Linked DNA regions of Homo sapiens: region 2 is linked to region 1. Evidence: promoter capture Hi-C in 16 types of primary human blood cells and fetal thymus (Javierre and others, 2016). All regions are on one chromosome and are shown on one strand. The core of a region is centred on a gene start or on the middle of the fragment in contact, and the rest is flanking DNA. Distances in the headings are between cores, read along the strand shown. Region 1 holds the start of TGM2 (transglutaminase 2). Region 2 overlaps LINC01746 (long intergenic non-protein coding RNA 1746).

The links. The method cuts DNA at HindIII sites, captures the fragments that hold promoters and counts their contacts. A CHiCAGO score of 5 or more calls a contact.
Region 2: a contact is called between a fragment that was not itself captured here and the fragment with the promoter of TGM2 in region 1, in 1 of 17 cell types (naive B cells). The highest score is 5.5, in naive B cells.

What each region holds. Positions count from the first base shown.
Region 1 is chr20:38,163,553-38,166,519 of GRCh38, reverse strand. TGM2 (transglutaminase 2) reads left to right here and starts at 1,250. Exons shown (of 13, transcript NM_004613.4): 1 at 1,250-1,331. The coding sequence starts at 1,322. RefSeq lists a silencer at 958-1,397. The HindIII fragment of the contact is 3,789 bases long and covers 1-2,967 here.
Region 2 is chr20:37,587,345-37,590,311 of GRCh38, reverse strand. All of the region lies in intron 3 of LINC01746 (long intergenic non-protein coding RNA 1746), which reads right to left. Among named protein-coding and RNA genes, the nearest start is that of LINC01746, 18 kb to the right of the region's middle. The HindIII fragment of the contact is 6,757 bases long and covers 1-2,967 here.

The DNA.
Region 1 (2,967 bases), core at 1-2,500:
GCTCAGGGCTCACAGTGGATCCGGAAGCACAGGAGACCAAGAGACCAGAGATACCAGGATGAGAGATAGGACCCCTGGTTGCCAGGTTCGAGAAGTCCTAGGCTGAGTCCCTGGAAAGTTAGTCTTGCTCCTTTCTGGCACACAGTGGGGCCTCAAGAAAGCTCAGTGGATGGATGGATTGAGGGAGGGAGGGAAGAGAAGGCCGAGGGAGGGATGGATGAAGGGATGAGTGGATGGATAGGTGGGGGGGTAGGTGATGCATGGGTGAGTGGATGGATGGGTAGATGGATGGCTGATTAGATGGATGGCTGATTAGACAGATACAAGGATGGGTGAGATCGGAGGATTATCTGGGTTTTGCTACAGGAAGGGACATGGGTGTGTCTGTTTTTGCAGGTGTGTCTGCATGTCTGTACCTGAGTCCATGCCTGCATGTGTGTCTACCTCTGAGTAGCCACATCTTTGTGTGTCTGTGGGTGCCCTCTCTGATTTTGCGTCCACATCTGACAGTGGCATTGGTGTCTAGGAGGTCTGTGTGTGTGCCAGGTGCCTCTGGACACCTGCTCATCTGTGTCCACAGCTGTGTGTGGCTCGCGGTCAAGGCTACCTGGCTGTGTCAGGCTGTATCTATGTCCTGGTGTGTGTCTGCCATTCGAATCTGAATTTGTATCCATGTCACTGTGTCTGCGTGGCCAGCCGTGTTTGGTGTATCTGTGGGAGTGTATCTGTGTTTGTGTGTGTATCTCCACAGCCCTGTCTTGGTGTGTCTGCGTCTGCTCTCTGTGTATGTATATCTGAGTATGTGTGTGAGTGTGTGCGTGTGTGTGTGTGTGTGTGTGTGTGTGTGTTGGGGGTGGGGAGGTGTTCTTGATCCCAGATCTGACCTAAGAGTCCACATCTGTGTGTCCAGGTGCACCCCGGTTCCGTTGTGTGTTTCTATGAGGGTGCTGCGTGTGTCTGTATCTGAGTGTGTGTGTCCAGGTGTCTGTTCTCCAAGGTCTGAGTCTGTGGGTCCAGGTGTGTCTGTATCCTGGGCTAGTTGTGTGTCCCTGTCCGCTCCCCCAGGGGGCGCCCTCGTCCGGCCGCCGTCCCTCCCTCGGGCTCCGGTCCCCTGGGTGAGCCCCAGCGCTGGCGGCGTGGGCCCGGGACTGGGCAATGGGTGGCCTCCCAGGTCGCCGCCTTCCCGCGGGGCCCCGCCCCCGGCCCGCCCCAAAGCGGGCTATAAGTTAGCGCCGCTCTCCGCCTCGGCAGTGCCAGCCGCCAGTGGTCGCACTTGGAGGGTCTCGCCGCCAGTGGAAGGAGCCACCGCCCCCGCCCGACCATGGCCGAGGGTGAGTATCAGAGTCACCGCAGCCGCCACTCAGGGGCCCCGGGGCATTGGGGGTCAGGACCCGGTGGGAGCTGAATCCCTAAGTCCTGATTTGGAGAGCAACAGGCAGACCGGGCTGGGTGAGGAGGCGTCTCAATGCTGCTTGGAGCCTCAGTTTCCCCATCCACACTGCATAACCATTAACCCTTGCCTCCCTGGATCAGGTGAGGCAATGGAACGCGACGGGGTGTTGTAAACTGTAAAGTACTGTCCTGGCGGACCACTGGCACGTGTCCTCAGTCAGTCAGTGGGGGCTGGCTCTCTGATGTGTGCCTGGAGCTGTGCAGGGGGTGCTGGCCTGGCCTCAGAACACTTAGGTTTGGGTGGTTCTTGCCAGCCAGGACCAGGTGGTGTGCATGCCACGCCGGTGGTGTGCAAGCCAAGCCTGGCTGAGTCCTTGGCTCCAGCGGCCAGAGAGGAGCTTTCGGCATCCTATCCAGGAGCCTTCGGAAATCAGGCTTGTTCTTCCCGCCCTCACGTTCTGCAACCCTAGACCTTGGCCAATTGTTGAGTCTCACCTATAAAATAAGGACAACAGTGTCCTTATTTTATAGGACAAGGTTTATGAGATTTGTTTTCCCCCAAGACCCCCACCCATCTGTCACCCTGACCGTGCCCTGGTCCTCTGCTCCAGCCTTTGGTGCATCTGTGAGGAACGAGAGGAGTGGAACAGAGGCTTAACTAATTTCATACTGGTGCCCCTGACTCCCTCCCCACACACAAGCAGCACTCTCGTAGGTCCCAGCTGGAGGGATTTCTACAATGGAGGATGTCACTGCTGGACCCAGAATCCCAGCTGGCTCTTGGGTCAAGTTCATCTGGGGATGGCTTCTGCACCCATTGCAACCCCCAGGAAGGGGTGTGGGACAGGGACATGGGGCAGGTGGAGCAGGAATGGGTGGCAGGAACTGTGGACCCACCTGACCCTGCTGTGTGATCTCAGCCACCTGCCTCCCTCGGGCCCAGCTCCCAACACACTGTGATGTGTCGCCTCGGTGGCCGCTTGTCCTCAATGCATCTTCTCACCCCCATGCTCAAAAGCAGGGCTCAGTGGGGCTGGGAGATCCTGGAGATGCCAGTTATGATGAGCCTCCAGCCCCATGTCACAGTGGCCACTTCTGACAGAGGTCTCACTGGCCTAGAAGGCCTAGGCCCTTTCTAAGTGCAGAAATCCTATAAATCCTACAATTCTAGACCTGCATCTTTGGAGCTGGGCGTGATTTCTGGAAACCCTTCTTCGGACAACAGATGGAGAAAATGCCCCAGCTCCCACAGCCCAGGGACTGGCCGTATCTCCAGGGTCTTCCATGGGAACAACAATGGCCTCTTTCCTGCTCAAGCTCCCTGGGTCTGAAGTTTCCAAAAACATTTCCTCGCCGCAATAGGCCAGCAGGAAGTTTTTCCTTCTGGCCACTGAGGTCTCTTCTGTTGTGATTACACGGGGACCGACATCCCTGATACTTCAGTGGCGCAGAACTATCTGCCCCCAGGTTTGAGAACAACACAGGACATGGTGGCGAAGGGGTGGTCATAAGAGGGGCTGGAGAAAAAACTGAGCTGTAGTGAGGTGGTTCCCAGGGCAGAATCCTACAGAATCC
Region 2 (2,967 bases), core at 180-2,679, 580 kb after region 1:
CCATACACACAGTATTTAAATGTGGGTTCTCTCAAAGGAAAAGTCTAAGACTGGGATTTGGGTGCAAATAGTTTATGTGGGATCCTAGGAATCTCAGCAAGGATGACAGGAGACAAATGTGTATTCTGAGTGAGTTAACACCTGGGGTCTCTGGGGCTCCGTCCTGCTAGACATCCTCTGAAAGACCATGTGAGACGCACTTCAGAATTGTCTCTGAAGGGCAAGGAAGTTGTTGGTGCTTCTTTCAAATTCCTGGTTGGTTTCTTGTTGTTGTTGTTGTTTTGAGATGGAGTCTTGCTCTGTCGCCCAGGCCAGAGTGCAGTGTCAAGATCTTGGCTCACTGCAACCTCTACCTCCCGGGTTCAAGCGATTCTCCTGCCTCAGTCTCCCAAGTAGCTGGGATTACAGGCATGTGCCACCACAGTCGGCTAATTTTTTTTCTTTGTTTTCTTTTTCTTTTTTCTTTTTTGTATTTTAGCAGTGACACGGTTTCGCCATGTTGGCCAGGCTGGTCTCAAACTCCTGACCTCAAGTGATCTGCCCGCCTCGGCTTCCCAAAGTGCTGGGATTACAGGCGTGAGCCACCATGGCTGGCTTTCTCTACATCTCCTGTTCCTTGCTGACTGAAGGTTGCTCCTGGGCACTAATTCTGCATTTCTGGGCTAAGCGCACCCAGGAAGCACCCTTAGATAAAGACGCAGAAAACCATTACTGTGTGCAGGAGCTGTCTGAAAGGGACCTATGAGGTTCACTGAAAGTATCCACCACATCCAGGATATATCCTGATTCATGAGCTCTCCAAAACACGTGATCAATATTTGCACTGATTCCAAGAGCCACATGTTAAACATGTTAACATCCCTGAAATTGAGATATGCCTTACAATTAAAATTAATTTTTTCTTCCTTTTTAGTACATAAAATACTGTTTTCATTAATAGAATCTCAGACTTAGTGAAATATTTATTATAGGCTGGGCGCGGTGGCTCACACCTGTAATCCCAGCACTTTGGGAGGCCAAGGCAGGCAGACTACTTAAGGTCAGGAGTTCGAGACCAGCCTGGCCAACATGGTGAAACCCCATCTCTACTAAAAATACAAAATTAGCTGGGTTGTTGCGGCACATGCCTGTAATCCCAACTACTCTGGAGGCTGAGGTGGGAGAATCACTTGAATCCAAGAGGAGGAGATTGCAGTGAGCTGAGATCACACCACTGCACTCCAGCCTGGGCGAGAGAGCGAGACTCCATCTCAACAAAACAAAAACAAACAAAAAAAAAACAGAAATATTTACTATATACATATATATGCTGCCACATGCCTAGAGTATCTCTGGAAAGATACACAAGAAGAAAATAGCATGGCAGAACATTGACTTTTATGACAGTTTTATTGAGATATAATTCATATGCCATAAAATATATCCTTTTAAAGTGCGCATTCAGTGTCTTTAGTATATTCACAAAGTTGTACAATCACTATTTAATTCCAGAACATTTCCAACACCTCAAAAAGAAACCCCATACCCATTAGCAGTTAGACCTCATTTCTCCCTGCTCCCAGCCCTAGGCAACCACCAATCTACTTCCTGTCTCCATGGAGTTCCTTATTTTAGATCTCTCATATAAATGGAATCATACAATGTGTGGCCTTTTGTGTCTTCTTTCACTTAGCATAATGTTTTCAAGGGTCATCTACGTTGTAGCACCTTTCTTTTCATGACTGAATAATACCCTGTTGTATGGATATACCACATTTTGTTTACACATTCATCAGCTAATGGATGTTTGGGTTGCTTACACCTTTTGGCTATTATAAATAATGTAGCTATAAACATACATTAGTAAGTTTTTGTTTGAAAATAGGTTCATTTGACTGGATGTATACCTAAAAGTAAAATTGCTGGGTCCTATAGTAACTCTATGTCCAACTTTTTGAGAAACTGACAAAATGTTTCCATTTTATATTCCCATCATTAATGTATGAGGGTTTCAATTTCTCCAAATCCTTGCCAAGTAACACCTGTTATTGTCCTTTTTTCATTATTATACCCATCCTACTAGGTATAAAGTGGTACATTCACTTATTTCCTCTTTAATTTTTATTATGTAATTGTCTCTGCTTACTGTGGATTTAGTTTGCCCCTCTTTTTCTAATTTCTTTATGGAGGAAGTTTAGGTGACTGATTCGAGATCTTTATTTATTTTAATATAGGTGATTGTAGCTGTAAACTTTCCTCTAAGCACTGCCTAAGCAACATCCCATAAGTTGTGGTATGTTGTGTCTTCATTTTCATTCATCTCAAAATATTTTCTAGTTTTCCTTGTTATTTCTTTTTTGACTAATTGGCTAGTTAGTAGTGTGTTGTTTATATTTCCACATTTTTTTGGAAAGTGCTTTCCCAAAGTTCTTTCATTATGTTTTTATAATTAATTTCATTTTATGTGGTCAGAAAACATATTTTGTGTGATTTAAATCCTTTTGAACATATGAGACTAGTTCTGTGACCTAACATATTATCTATTTTAGAGAATGATCTATGCATACTTAAGAAAAATGCTGCTGTTGAGAGGAATATTCCATAGGTGTCTGTTAGGTCAAGTTAGTTTTTAATATTGTTCAGGTCTTTCATTTCCTTGTTGATCTTCTGCATAGGTATCGTATTCATTATTAAAAGTAGAATATTAAAGTTTCCATCTATTATTGTTGAATTGTCTATTTCTGCCTTCAATTCTGTCAGTTTTTGCTTCATGTATTTTGGAGCTTTATTGTTAGATGCATATGTGTTTATAGCTGTTATGTATACCTGATGGATTGACCATTTTATCATTATAAAACATCCTTTTTTGTCTCTAGTATTAATCTTTATCTTAAAGATTACTGTGTCTAATGTTAGCATAGCCTCTCCAGAACTCTTTTGGTTATGGTTTTCGTGTTATGTATTTTTCCTTTTTTTCTTAACTGATAA